Linked DNA regions of Homo sapiens: regions 1 and 2 are each linked to region 3. The links are contacts of gene promoters, found by promoter capture Hi-C in human tissues and cell types (Jung and others, 2019). All regions are on one chromosome and are shown on one strand. Each heading gives the region's core, a stretch centred on a gene start or on the middle of the fragment in contact. The rest is flanking DNA. Distances are from core to core; before and after follow the strand shown. Region 1 has its middle 96 kb from the start of RBL2. Region 2 overlaps LOC102723373 (a long non-coding RNA gene). Region 3 holds the start of CHD9 (chromodomain helicase DNA binding protein 9).

Region 1 (4,179 bases), core at 333-2,832, 280 kb after region 3:
TATAGTAGAGATGAGGTCTTGGTTCTTGCCGTGTTGCCCAGGCTGGTCCTGTACTCCTGGCCTCAAGCAATCCTCTCCCTCAGCCTTCCAAAGCTCTGGGATTACAGGCATGAACCACCACATCCAGCTGATCATGTTGTTTTGATATGTGCTGTGAAATAATTGCCACAATCAAGCAAGCTAACATATCCATCATCTAACATAGTTACCGTGTGTGTGTGTGTGTTAACACTTAAGATTTACTCTCAACAAATTTCAAATATTCAATATAGTATTACTAACTGTAGTTATTATGTTGTACATTTGATCTCGACAACTTATTCATCCTGTGTAACAGAAACTTTGTACCGTTTGAATGAGCAGTTAATCTTTGAAAAGAGTGCCAAGACAATTCAATGGGGGAAAGGATATTTGGAACAACTGAATATCCATACACAAAAAAATGAAGTTGCACTCAGAATCGATCATAGTCCTAAACGTAAGAGATGAAATTATAAAACTCTTAGAAGAGGCTGAGCACGGTGGCTCATGCCTGTAATCCCAGCACTTTGGGAGGCCGAGGCAGGCGGATCACGAGGCCAGGAGATCGAGACCATCCTGGCTAACACGGTGAAACCCCGTCTCTACTAAAAATACAAAAAATTAGCCAGGCGTGGTGGCAGGCACCTGTAGTCCCAGCTACTCGGGAGGCTGAGGCAGGAGAATGGCGTGAACCCGGGAGGTAGAGCTTGCAATGAGCCGAGATCACGCCACTGCACTCCAGCGTGGGTGACAGAGTGAGACTCCGTCTCAAGACAATAAATAAATAAATAAATAAATACTCTTAGAAGAAAGCATAGAATAATCTTTGTGACCTTGAATTATGCAAAAGCTTCTTAGACTTGACATTAAAAGCACAAGTAATAAAAGAAAAAATAAACATCAAAATTAATATATTTAGTGCTTCAAAGGACACCTTCAAGAAAGAGAAGGCTGAGCGTGGTGGCACATTCCTGTAATCCCAGTACTTTAGGAGGCCAAGGCAGGAAAATTTGCTTGAGCCCAGAAGTTCAAGACCAGCCTGGGCAACAGAGAGAGACTCCAAATCTACAAAAATAATAGTAAGTAAAAAGAAAGAGAACAAACAACCCACAGAACTGGAGAAAATATTTGTAAATCATGTATCTGATAAGTAACTTGTATCCAGAACATATAAAGATCTCTTACAACTCAAAAATAAAGATAAAAACTCAATTTTAAAAGGAGCAATGGATTTGAGCAGACATTTCTCCAAAGATATACAAATAGCCAATACACACATGAAAAGGTCCTCAACGTTATTGGCCATTATGTGAATGCAAATCAAAACTAAAATGAGATACCACTTCACACCCCTCAGGATGGCCAGAATTAAAGAGACACTAAAAGTATTAGTGAGAAAGTGGACAAATTACAATTCTCACACATTGCAGGAGGGAATGTACAAAGGCATGGCCCCAGTCTATGGCTACACCACCCTGAACATGCCAGATCTCATCTGATCTCAGAAGCTGGGCAGGGTGGGGCCTGGTTAGTACTTGCATGGAAGACTGCCTGGAAATACTGGGTGCTGTAGACTTAAAGGAAAAAAAAAAGAAAAAGAAAAAAAGAAACAAAAGAAACAAAGGGAACTGTTTTCCCTTTGGAAAACAGTTTTGCAATTCCTCAAACTATTAACCATGATGTTGTTACCTATGGCTCAGCAATTCTATTCCTAGTATGTACTGAAAGAAATGAAACCATGTTCACCTGAAAACTTACAGACAAATATTTATAGCGGTATTATTCAGAATAGCCCAAAAGTAGAAACAACCCAAATGTCCATCAACAGATGAATAAATGAGATGTGTGGTCTATCCATACAATGGAATATTTAACCATAAAAAGGAAGGAGGGACTGACATATGTTGCAACAGAGATAAATCTTGAAAACATTATTCTAAGTGAAAAAAGTTGTAACAGAGCCCCTTGAAATTTCAGCACCCCAACATTTTTAGTGACTGAAATAATGAAAATTCTCATAGGCCCTTGCTTCCTTACACAAAAGCCAGCATCCTTTGTTCCCATGATATAATTATAATATAAACTGCTGATGTGCTGTTTCTTTGTCAAGCAGAAGATAACTTCAGGGTCATGAAAAAAATTTTCAGAAGAAAGGGGCAGGTGCGGTGGCTCACGCCTGTAATCCCAGTACTTTGGGAGACTGAGGCAGGCAGATCACCTGAGGTCAGGAGTTTGAGACCAGCCTGGCCAACATGGCGAAACTCTGTCTCTACTAAAAATACATAAATTAGCCAGGTGTGGTGGTGGGTGCCTGTAATCCCAGCTACTCAGGAGGCTGAGGCAGGGGAATCACCTGAACCTGGTTGCAGTGAGCTGAGATCGCACCATTGCACCCCAGCTTGGGTGACAGAGCTAGACTCCGTCCTCCCCAGAAAAAAAGAAAAGAAAAAAGAAAAAACTTTGCAGAAGAAAGAACAAAATCATGTCCTTTACTGCAACATGGATGCAGGTGGAGGCCATTATGGTAAGTGAATCAATGCAGAAAGAGAAAACTAAATACTGCATGTTCTCAATTATAAGTGGGAGCTAAACATTGGGCACTCTTGAACATAAAGATGGCAACAATAGACTCTGGGGACTTCTACCAGGGGAGGGAGGAAAGGAGACAGGAGTTGAAAAACTATTGAGTACTATGCTCGGTACCTGGATGACAGGATCATTCATACCCTAAACCTCAGTATCATGCAATATACTCATGTAACAAACCTGCACATGTAACCCCTGAATCTAAAATTAAACTTGAAACTTTTATTTTATTTTATTTTGCAGAAGGAATGAATGTCCTTTAAGGACATTGTAACCAACTGCTGTAACCCAGCAATCTGCTTATTCAAGATGTTATCCGAGACTGAAGAAACGCAGACTTTTCCCCCTCGGTTCCTTGAAACTCCCCCTACCTTACTCTCTAGCCACATAAAACTATTTGCTTTTCATTCTTGATAGACAGAATTGAGAGATTTTGCTTTTCCCACCTTCTGGTTTTAGTCAAATCAAAAAAAACCTTTCTCTCTCTCCAACCACCTGTGTGTCAGTGTTTGGCATCAACTTCACGCCAGGCACACAAGCCTGAACTTGGGGTTCTGTTTCAAGGTCAGTCACAAAAGATCACATATGATTCCATTTATATAAACTGTCTGTAATAGGTGAATCTATAAAGATAGAAAGGAGATTAGTGGTTGTCTAAGACTGGGGACATTCACATGTAACTGCTAATGGTTACAGGTTTCCTTTTTTTTTTCTTTTAGAGACAGGGACTCGTTCTGTCACCCAGGCTGGAGTGCAGTTGTGCTGTCACTCACTGTAACCTTGAACTCCTGGGCTCAAGCAATCCTTCTACCTCAGCCTCCCAAAGTGTTGAGATTACAGGCATGAGCCAATGCACTTGGCCTTGAATTGTACACTTTAAACGAGTGAATTGTATGGTACATGGACTATATCTCTAAAGGTTTTAATAAGCTAACAAAACTAAAACCTATGAACTCAAGGTAAAAAATGTTAAACTTGACCAGCCATGGTGGCTCACACCTGCAATCCCAGCACTTTGGGAGGCCGAGGCAGATGGATCACTTGAGGTCAGGAGTTCAAGACCAACCTGGCCAACATGGTGAAACCTTGTCTCTATTAAAAAAAAAAATACAAAAATGAGGTGGCATGCACCTGTAATGCCAGCTACTCGGGAGGCTGTGGCACAAGAATTGCTTGAACCCAGGAAATGAAGGTTGCAGTGAGCTGAGATTGCACCACTAAACTCCAGCCTGGCAGAGCAAGATTCTGTCTTAAAAAAATAATAATTTAAACTCTAGTCTTAATAAAAACTCACACTTTGCAACATCATAACTCCATCACACTCCTGGTGTCCATGGAGCACCTACTGAGGTAAAGACACCTCTGTCCCCTCTGTGTACCCGTTTTGCTACCCAGTGAGTCTTAGACAGTAGCAGCTTCTGCCACTAAGAGCAATCCCTGGGATTAAGAGGAAAAGCAAGAGTTCTGGACCCTCCTTTCTTCCTCTGTGCACTCACTCCCAAGGTGATCTCATCCAGTCTTTGGTACTAAATCCATCTATACAAGGACACTCCAAAAGGTATGTCTCATCCC
Region 2 (4,125 bases), core at 849-3,348, 330 kb after region 3:
ACCCATAACAAGTATGTACCATACCTTATTCAGCCATTCTATAGAAGAGCATTTAGGTTATTTTCAATATTCTGAAATTCTAAACACATTGCATGTTGTCCATATGTATTTTCATATTATTCAATGTGTGCCTTTCTGCTTCTGTACCTTTCAGAAGTGTGTTTAAGTTTTCATCATATAGTTTTTGTGCATTTCTAATTAACATTTTTCCTAAATTATTTTTTGCTACTGTAATGGGATTTTTTTGTAGTGTTATTTTTTCTAACTTATTAATTATATGTTTGAAGACTCTTGATTTTTGTTGGTTAACTCTATATCATTTTACCTTACTGAATTTATTGTTTGAGCTAGTTTTATCTTTTGATTGTTAGGGCTTCTAGATATGCTGTCACATCACTTGCAAAAAGGAATTGCTTTATGTTATATTTTTCTTTTCTTTTCTTCTCTCTTTTTTTTTTTTTTTTTTTGAGATGGAGTCTTGCTCTGTTGCCCAGGCTAGAGTGCAGTGGCTTGATCTCGGCTCACTGCAAACTCCACCTCCTGGGTTCACGCCATTCTCCGGCCTCAGCCTCCCATGTAGCTGGGACTACAGGTGCCCACCACCACGCCTGGCTTACTTTTTGTATTTTTATTAGAGATGGGGTTTCACAGTGTTAGCCAGGATGGTCTCCATCTCCTGACCTCGTGATCTGCCTGCCTTGGCTTCCCAAAGTTCTGGGATTACAGGCATGAGCCACCACGCCCGGCCTTATGTTGTATTTCTCAATTCATATATGCCTCTAATTGATTTCTCGAATCTGAGTTTATTTCCATGTTGATCTTGTATGCTCGTATTGGTGAAATCACTTATTAGTTGAAGGAATTATTTTGAAGATCCTTTGGGATTTTCCCCATAGTTCCTTATATTATTTCCAAATAGGGACAGTTTTACATCTTCCTTTATAATCTATATGTTTTTTCTCGACTTACCATGCTTGCTAGAAATTCCAGTACCATATTGAATAATAGTGGTGAAAGGTGGACATCCTTGTGTTTTCCTTACCTTAGGGGAAAGGCATACATTCTTTCTTTAAATATTATGTTACCTGTAGGTTTGGAGTAGATGTTCTTTATCAAGTTGTGGAAGTTCTACACTGTTGATAATTTTCTGAGTGTTTTTATCATGAATAAGTATTGAGTTTTATTGAATGCTTTCTCTACGTCAATGAGTATGATCATGTGATTTTTCTTTTTTGACATGTTTGTATAGTTAATTACATTGATTTTTAAAATATTGAACCAGCTTTGAATCTATGGAAGGGATCCCCCTTGGTCATGCCATTCGATTCTTTTATACAGTGTTGAACAATATATATTTGCTTGCATTTTGCTAAGAGATTTTGCATCTAAATATAGAGAGATATTGGTCTGTAGCTTTGTGGGGGTTTTTTGTTTTTTTTTTCTGGTCTTCACTTAATTTTGGTATTAAGGTTGCTGGCCTCATTAAATACATGGGAAGCAGTCTCCTTTTCTATTTCCAGGAAGGCATTGTGTAGAATTGGCATTAGTTCTTTAAGCATTTGGTAGGGTTTGGCAGTAAATATGTCTGTGACTGGAGATTTCCTTTTGGGACTTTTTGAATTAAGAATTTGATCTGCTTTTTTATTTTATTTTTTATTTTTTTGAGATGGAGTCTCACTCTGTCACCCAGGCTGGAGTGCAGTGGCACGATCTCAGCTCACTGCAACCTCTGCCTCCCAGGTTCAAGTGATTCTCCTGCCTCAGCCTCCCCAGTAGCTGGGACTACAGGCATGTGTCACCACGCCCAGCTAATTTTTGTATTTTTCATAGAGATGGGATTTCCCCATATTGGCCAGGTGGGTCAAGAACTCCTGACCTCAAGTGATCCACCTGCCTCGGCCTCCTAAAGTGCTGGGATTACAGGCGTGAGCCACCGCACCTGGCCTGGTGTGTTTTTTAGAAACAGGGTCTTGCTCTGTGGCCTAGGCTGCAGTGCAATGGTGTGATTATAGCTCATGGCAGCCTCAAACTCCTGGGCTCAAACAACCCTCTCACCTCAGCCTCTCAAAGTGCTGGGATTACAGGCATGAGCCACTGCGCCTGGCCTTGATTTTCTTAATAATTATTTGAGTAGTGCTATTTAAGTTGTTTATTTCCTAATAATAGATGTTGTGGTTATTTGTGTTTTTTTGAAATTAGCCATTTCATCTTACTTGTCAGGTTTATTATATCTGGAGAATTATTTGTAATATTTCCTTAATATAATTTTTATATCTTCAGGATCTGGGATTATATCCCCTGGTGCATTCCTAATGTTGGTGATTTGTGTCTTCTCTCTTATTATTTCTATTAGTCATATTAGAGGTTAATCAGTTTTACTGGTCTTTTAAAAAATGCTTTTTGTTTCATTTTTCTCTATTTTTCTGTTTTCAATTTCATGATCTCATTTGTATTATTTTTTGCTTGCTTTGGTGTTGCAGGAAGTCAGGGACCCTGAACAGAGGGACCAGCTGAAGTCACAGCAGAAGAACATAAATTGTGAAGATTTCATGGACATTTATTAGTTCCCCAAATTAATACTTTTATAATTTCTTATGCCTGTCTTTACTGCAATCTCTGAACATAAATTGTGAAGATTTCATGGACATTTATCACTTCCCCAATCAATACTCTTATAATTTCCTATGCCTGTCTTTAATCTCTTAATCCCATCATCTTCCTAAACTGAGGATGTATGTCGCCTCAGGACCCTGTGATGATTGCATTATCTGCACAAGTTGTTTGTAAAGCGTGTGTGTTTGAACAATATGAAATCTGGGCACCTTGAAAGGAACAGGATAACAGTGATTTTCAGAGAACAAGGGAGATAACCATAAGGTCTGACTGCCTGCAGGACCGGGCAGAACAGAGTCGTATTTCTCTTCTTACAGAAAGCGAATAGGAGAAATATTGCGAATTCTTTTCTCAGCAAGGAATAGCCCTGGGAAAGGAAAGCATTCCCAGGGGGAGGTCTCTAAAATGGCTGCTCTGGGAGTGTCTGTCTTATGTGGTTGAAGATAAGGGATGAAATACACCCTGGTCTCCTGCAGCGCCCTCAGGCTTGCTAGGATTAGGAAATTCCAGCCTGGCGAATTCTAATCAGACCAGTTGTCTGCTCTCGAACCCTATTTCCTGCTAAGATGTTTATCAAGACAATGCGTGCCCAGTGGGACATGGAACCTCATCAGTAATTCTAATTTCACCCTGGCCCTGTGATCTCGCTCTGCCCTTCTGCGCTTGTAATCTTTTATTGCCTCTTGAAGCATGTGATCTGTGTGATTTACTCCCTGTTCATACCCCCTTCCCCTTTTCAAATCCCTAATAAAAACTTGTTGGTTTTGCGGCTCAAGGGGCATCACGGAACCTGCCGACATGTGATGTCACCCCTGGAGGCCCAGATGTAGAATTTCTCTCTTTGTACTCTTTCTCTTTATTTCTCAGACTGGCCGACACTTAGGGAAAATAGAAAAGAACCTACATTGAAATATTGGGGGCTGGTTCCCCCAATACTTTGGTTTTGTTTTTCTTTTTGTTTTATTTTCTGTATGCGAAAGCTTCAAGTATTGATCCAACATGTTTTCTAATATAAGCATTTAGTGCTATAAATTTCCCTCACAGCTCTTGGGTATTGGTATACCACACATTTTTATATGCTGTATTTTCATTTGATTCTGGGTAGATACTTTTGTTATTCTTTGTTTGTTTGTTTCTATTTCCCATGAGATGAGACTTCTTCTTTGACCCATGGATTATTTAGAAGGGAGTTGTTTAGTTTCTAAGTGTTTGGAAATTTTCCTGTTACCTTTTTCCTGTTGATTTCTAATTTGATTCTATTTTGGTTAGAAAGCATATTCTGTATGATTTCAGTTTTTTTAATGTCACAGGACATAATTCCAAAAGTCCCTGTGGACCTTTCTCTTCTGTTTTTGTCTCCCTTCTCTCTGTTGGTCAGGGTAGTTTCTCTTTCCAGGTTCACTGGTTCTCTCCTCTCTCCTTTCCACTCTGTTGTAGAGCCTGTCTACTGAGCTATTTATTTCAATTCTTTCATTTTGTTTGAAATTTTATTTGAGATGGAATCTGACTCTG
Region 3 (4,576 bases), core at 1,499-3,998:
ATTAAAATTTAAAAATTAGCCAGGCATGGTGGCACATGCCTGCAGTCCCAGCTACTTGGGAGTCTGAGGTGGGAAGATCCCTTGAGCTCGAATTTGTGGCTGCAATGAACAATGATCACCTGGATGACAGAACAAGACCCCATCTCTTAAAGAAAACTGTTAGTGTCTAACACGTTATAAATATTTTATTATTGTTATTTACATACTTCAGCCTACCAAAACTCCTGTTTTCCATGGAGAAAACAGATCTGTTGATAACTCTGCAGTTTCCAGAAACACTGTGATTAGCAGAATGAGAAAAATGCCAGGAGAACTCAGAAGAGAAAGTCACTAGGAAGACTTAATCTCATCAGGTGATGCCAGAATCCAGAGGTTGTAATCTAGGACTTTGCCCAGGCATGCTTTGGGGCACAGTGGTGGGGAGGGAGCTGTTGCAAAGATGGGGCAAGAATGGTCTGGACATGACTCAGACACTTTAAAGTGAAAGAATGGGAAATTGTCTGGCAGCTGGTACTTACCATGGGCAGTCAGCACTCCTCTGACTGATTCACCTTCACCAGGGCACCAGCCTGCAGTGAAGTAGCTGGGGCTGGTTCCTTTTAGTGACACCCACCACCCCTTGCCCTTCCAGGTATTGTCCACAGATGACACCTCCTCCTCCTCCTCCTGCTCCTCCTCCTGCTCTGCCTCCTCCTCCTCCCCCTGCTCCTGCTTCTCCTCCTCTTCCTCCTGCTCCTTCTCCTCCTCCTCCTGCTCCTCCTCCTGCTCTTCCTCCTCCTCCTGCTCTTCCTCCTCCTCCTCCTGCTTCTCCTCCTCTTCTTCCTCCTGCTCTTTCTCCTCCTCTTCCTGCTCCTCCTCTCCTTCTGCTCCTCCTGCTTCTCCTCCTCCTGCTCCTCCTCCTCCACCTGCTCCTCCTCCTTCTCCTCCTCCTGCTCCTCCTCCTTCTGCTCCTTCTTCTCCTGCTCCTCTTCCTCCTGCTCCTGCTTCTCCTCCTTTCTCCTGCTCCTCCTCCTCCTGCTCCTCCTCCTGCTCCTCATCCTCCTTCTCCTCCTGCTCCTCCTTGTCCTCCTCTGCCCTTGATATTCACTTTGACCAGATTACACCAGTACAGAGAGTCCAAAGGTTAAATAGGCACACACTCACACACAAACTCACACTGGGCTAGAACAATGACAGAGCGTCCTGGGGGAGCAGAGTGGGGGCCGGGGGGAGGGGGAAAGGAGGATTGCAGGCCTAACTTTCACAAATCACCTGAAATTTCCACTGAAGGCATTATCTCCAAATGTTGCCACAGAGATAAACTGCCAGGATTACAAGAAAACGTGAAGACGTTCCCATAGAACTCTGTAATGCTTATATCCATCACCAGGAATGTCTGCCCTTGGCGCCCTAAACATAGATTGATTGATTGATTGATTGATTGATTTTGAGGCAGAGTCTCACTCTGTCACCCAGGCTGGAGTGCAGTGGTGCGATCTCAGCTCACTGCAACCTCCTCCTTCCGGGTTCAAGGGATTCTCCCACCTCAGCCTTGGAGTAGTTGGGATTACAGGCTCCTGCCACCACGCCCGGCTAATTTTTGTATTTTTTGTAGAGACTGGGTTTTGCCATGTTGGCTAGGCTGGTCTCAAACTCCTGACCTCAAGCGATCCTCTTGCCTCAGCCTTCCAAAGTGCTGGGATTACAGGCGTGAGCTACGGTGCCTGGCCCTAAATATAGATATTTTTAATAAATCCTCTACTTATCTCACAACGAGCTCAATCGCTTTGCATTAGATCGTTGGGTGTGTTAAAAGTATTCATGTGTTACATTAAATGTGAATTCAACAAAAGCAGAGATTTTTGTGTTTTGTTCTTCATTGTATCCCTTGATTGTAGAAAAGTGGCACATAGTAGGTGCTCAGTTAATCGTTGTTAAATGAAGACATAAATGAAATATAAACCATTAAATGTCCACCATATTTGTAAGCGTTTTGGCATGTCTTCATTGAAAGAATACCAGGCAGCTGGGAGCCATAGTTTACTCCGGTAATCCCAGTGCTTTGGGAGGCTGCAGGTGAGAGGATCGCTTGAGACCAGGAGTTCAAGAGCCACCAGGGCAACATAGAGAGACCTTGTCTCTACAAAAACAAAACAAAACAAAACAAAAAACAAAAAACACAATTCCCTTAAGCCGCCCCTTCCCCTTCCACTGCTCAGAGAAGGCCTTCCAGCAGAGCAGAGCACGAGGTCGCTGGCACACACCCATCCTCCACCAGTCCTGGCCTCTGTAGAGCAAGCCAGCAGAGCAGGCTGTTTCTCTCATTCAGGGACGGTTTAGGGGGTGGCAGGAAAAAATGGTTGCTGATAGGCGAAGGGCCTCCCTGGGTTGGAGAGAACCCCAGCCTCGGATGGTCCCAGCACATTTAAAAGAGAAGCAGTGCCAAAGGTGGGGTGCACTGAAAGCTGCTGGATGAAGGGAAAGATCCTTGTGCTCAGCCCGGAAAACCGGAGGATGGATACCAGGCCGAGGGGTCCCTCCGTGCCCCAAGAGAAAGTTCACCAAGTTTAGATCCCAGTGCCCCGCAGCGGGTGAAGGTGGTCCCGCCCCAGGCCGGATCTGGCCACAGGGCTGGCGGCGCGCTGGAAAACCGCCCACGTGGGAAGAAGCCCTGGCTGCATTTCCGCCCTGGACTGCGCTCCCGCCTGCCAGCGCGGTCCCTGCGCAGCCGCCCCGCGCCCACTAGGTGGCGCCTGCGCTCTAGTGGGCGCTTCACAGGCGCAGCGACAGCGACAGCGACAGCTCGAACCTGAGTCCCAGGATTCCGGGGACTGGAGGGCAGCGCCGGCAGCCAAGGTAGGATTCCTGAGCCCCGGGCGTCTCCCTGGAGCCTCTGAGGTCGGGGTGGACAGCGGGGCGGCCGCTGGGCACCGCTTGCGGTCTGCAGAGATAACCGGAGGAGTCGGGGCGGCAGCACGTGTTGTAGCCGTGGGGGGGACCCAGAGACCCGCAGCCTCGGAGCTGGGCCTAGAGCAAGGCAGAGCACCAGGTCGCTGGCACGCTCGCATCCTCCCCAGCCCTCGCCTCCCAGAGCATGCCCGAATCCCCAAGCCGGGCGTCCTCGAAGCGGAAAGCAGCCACTGTCGCCCAGAGCCACTCCAGGGTGGCAGCCGAGTGCTGATAAGGTCCAGAGCACCACTTCTTAAACTTGTCTGCCCGTTGGCGTTGCTTGGGAAGCATTAAAAAAATACCGATGCCCTAGTTCCACCCCCGCCCCCCCCCAGAGACTCAGATGTGATTGGTCTGGGTGGGGGACTGGACATCTGGGTATTAAAATGTTTGCAAGAGATTCCAGCTGGCAGCCAAATTTGAGGACCCTTGATCTAAGGAGTTGGAGAAAAACGGAGGACATTTGTTTGTTCTAACCCAGAATGCTGATGATTCCCTCCTCCTCCTATTCCTCCAGTTCGCCCTCCTCCTCCTTTCTCATGTGCCTTTTAAGCAGGAAATGCCTCTGCCTTTGTACTGTCAAACCCAAGATAACAAACTAACCATCCCCCACCCCCCACAGTAGGGCTGGTTCTGAAAGGGTTGAACTCGAAAGTGGACAAGGAACAGAAAGACACCAGTGTGGAATGTGAGCGAAGACTCTTAGGGGTTTATGGGTAGGAAGGGGGTTCCTCCCCACCCTGATCCCAGAGAAGATCAGGAGACTGGCTGGAGCTGTCTTCCTCATTTTGGCAAACCTAGCTGATTAGGCAGTGAGAGGCCTTATAACGAGCCTTTTTTACAACTAGTAAAAGGGCCCTTTTACAACTAGTAAAAATGAGCCCTTATGTTTGTTTGTTTTATAGAGATAGGGCCTCACTATATTCCCCAGGATGGTCTCAAACTCCTAGGCTCAAGCCATTCTCCAGCCTCGGCCTCCCAAAGTGCTGGGATTATAGGCATGAGCCGCTGCGCCCCGCTGACCCCTTATGTTTATATAACAGCAGTGTTACTAACATGGGCATAGATTCCCCCCCATAGGCAGCCCTTCCTTTGTGACCTTGGAAACTCACTGAACCATCCTCAGCTTCAGTTTTTGTATCTGCAAAATGGGTGTGAAAATCGGGTTGCCTTGGGAATTATTCACAATAAAAGCTACTGTTTACTAAGGGTTCACCCTATGCTAGAGGCTTTCTGTGCAGGGCCAAGTTAGACTCCTGACCATAACTTCCACGGTAGAACTATGAATACTGCATTTGATAGCCAAGGAAACTGAGGCTCAGAGAGGCCAATGATCTTGCTCGAAGTTATATAATTAATTAATAAGAAGCATGTCCCATATTTGAACCCAGGCAGTCTGCTCTTGAGCTCAGGTGCAAAAGAACAATACTCTGCTGTTTCCCTTGTTGACCAGGACAGCGTGCACGGGGCAGGCGCGTGGTGTGTCTTCACAAACACTAGCTATCACTGCTGTGAGCTGAGCACTTCCACTGAATTGACTCATTCGCTCATTGGAAATACATTTATTATTGAGAGCCTACTGTGGGCCAGGCAGTTTTCCAGATGCTAGAGATAAAATATGAGTAAGACAGAATTCAGCCAGCCCCGA

The links. Contacts are between HindIII fragments. The study calls those that stand out against the background at their distance.
Region 1: a fragment that was not itself captured here is called in contact with the fragment with the promoter of CHD9 in region 3 in 4 of the 25 tissues and cell types used here (hippocampus, mesendoderm cells, small bowel and 1 more).
Region 2: a fragment that was not itself captured here is called in contact with the fragment with the promoter of CHD9 in region 3 in 1 of the 25 tissues and cell types used here (thymus).

What each region holds. Positions count from the first base shown.
Region 1 is chr16:53,335,975-53,340,153 of GRCh38, forward strand. It overlaps the pseudogene RNA5SP427. Among named protein-coding and RNA genes, the nearest start is that of RBL2, 96 kb to the right of the region's middle. The HindIII fragment of the contact is 8,519 bases long and covers 1-4,179 here.
Region 2 is chr16:53,381,694-53,385,818 of GRCh38, forward strand. It overlaps LOC102723373 (a long non-coding RNA gene), which reads left to right. Exons shown (of 3, transcript NR_119378.1): 3 at 2,481-2,566. Among named protein-coding and RNA genes, the nearest start is that of RBL2, 51 kb to the right of the region's middle. The HindIII fragment of the contact is 9,705 bases long and covers 1-4,125 here.
Region 3 is chr16:53,052,243-53,056,818 of GRCh38, forward strand. It overlaps CHD9 (chromodomain helicase DNA binding protein 9), which reads left to right and starts at 2,749. Exons shown (of 39, transcript NM_001308319.2): 1 at 2,749-2,835. It overlaps CHD9NB (CHD9 neighbor), which reads right to left and starts at 655. Exons shown (of 3, transcript NM_001396020.1): 1 at 519-655. RefSeq lists enhancers at 3,043-3,574, 3,087-3,136. The HindIII fragment of the contact is 13,928 bases long and covers 1-4,576 here.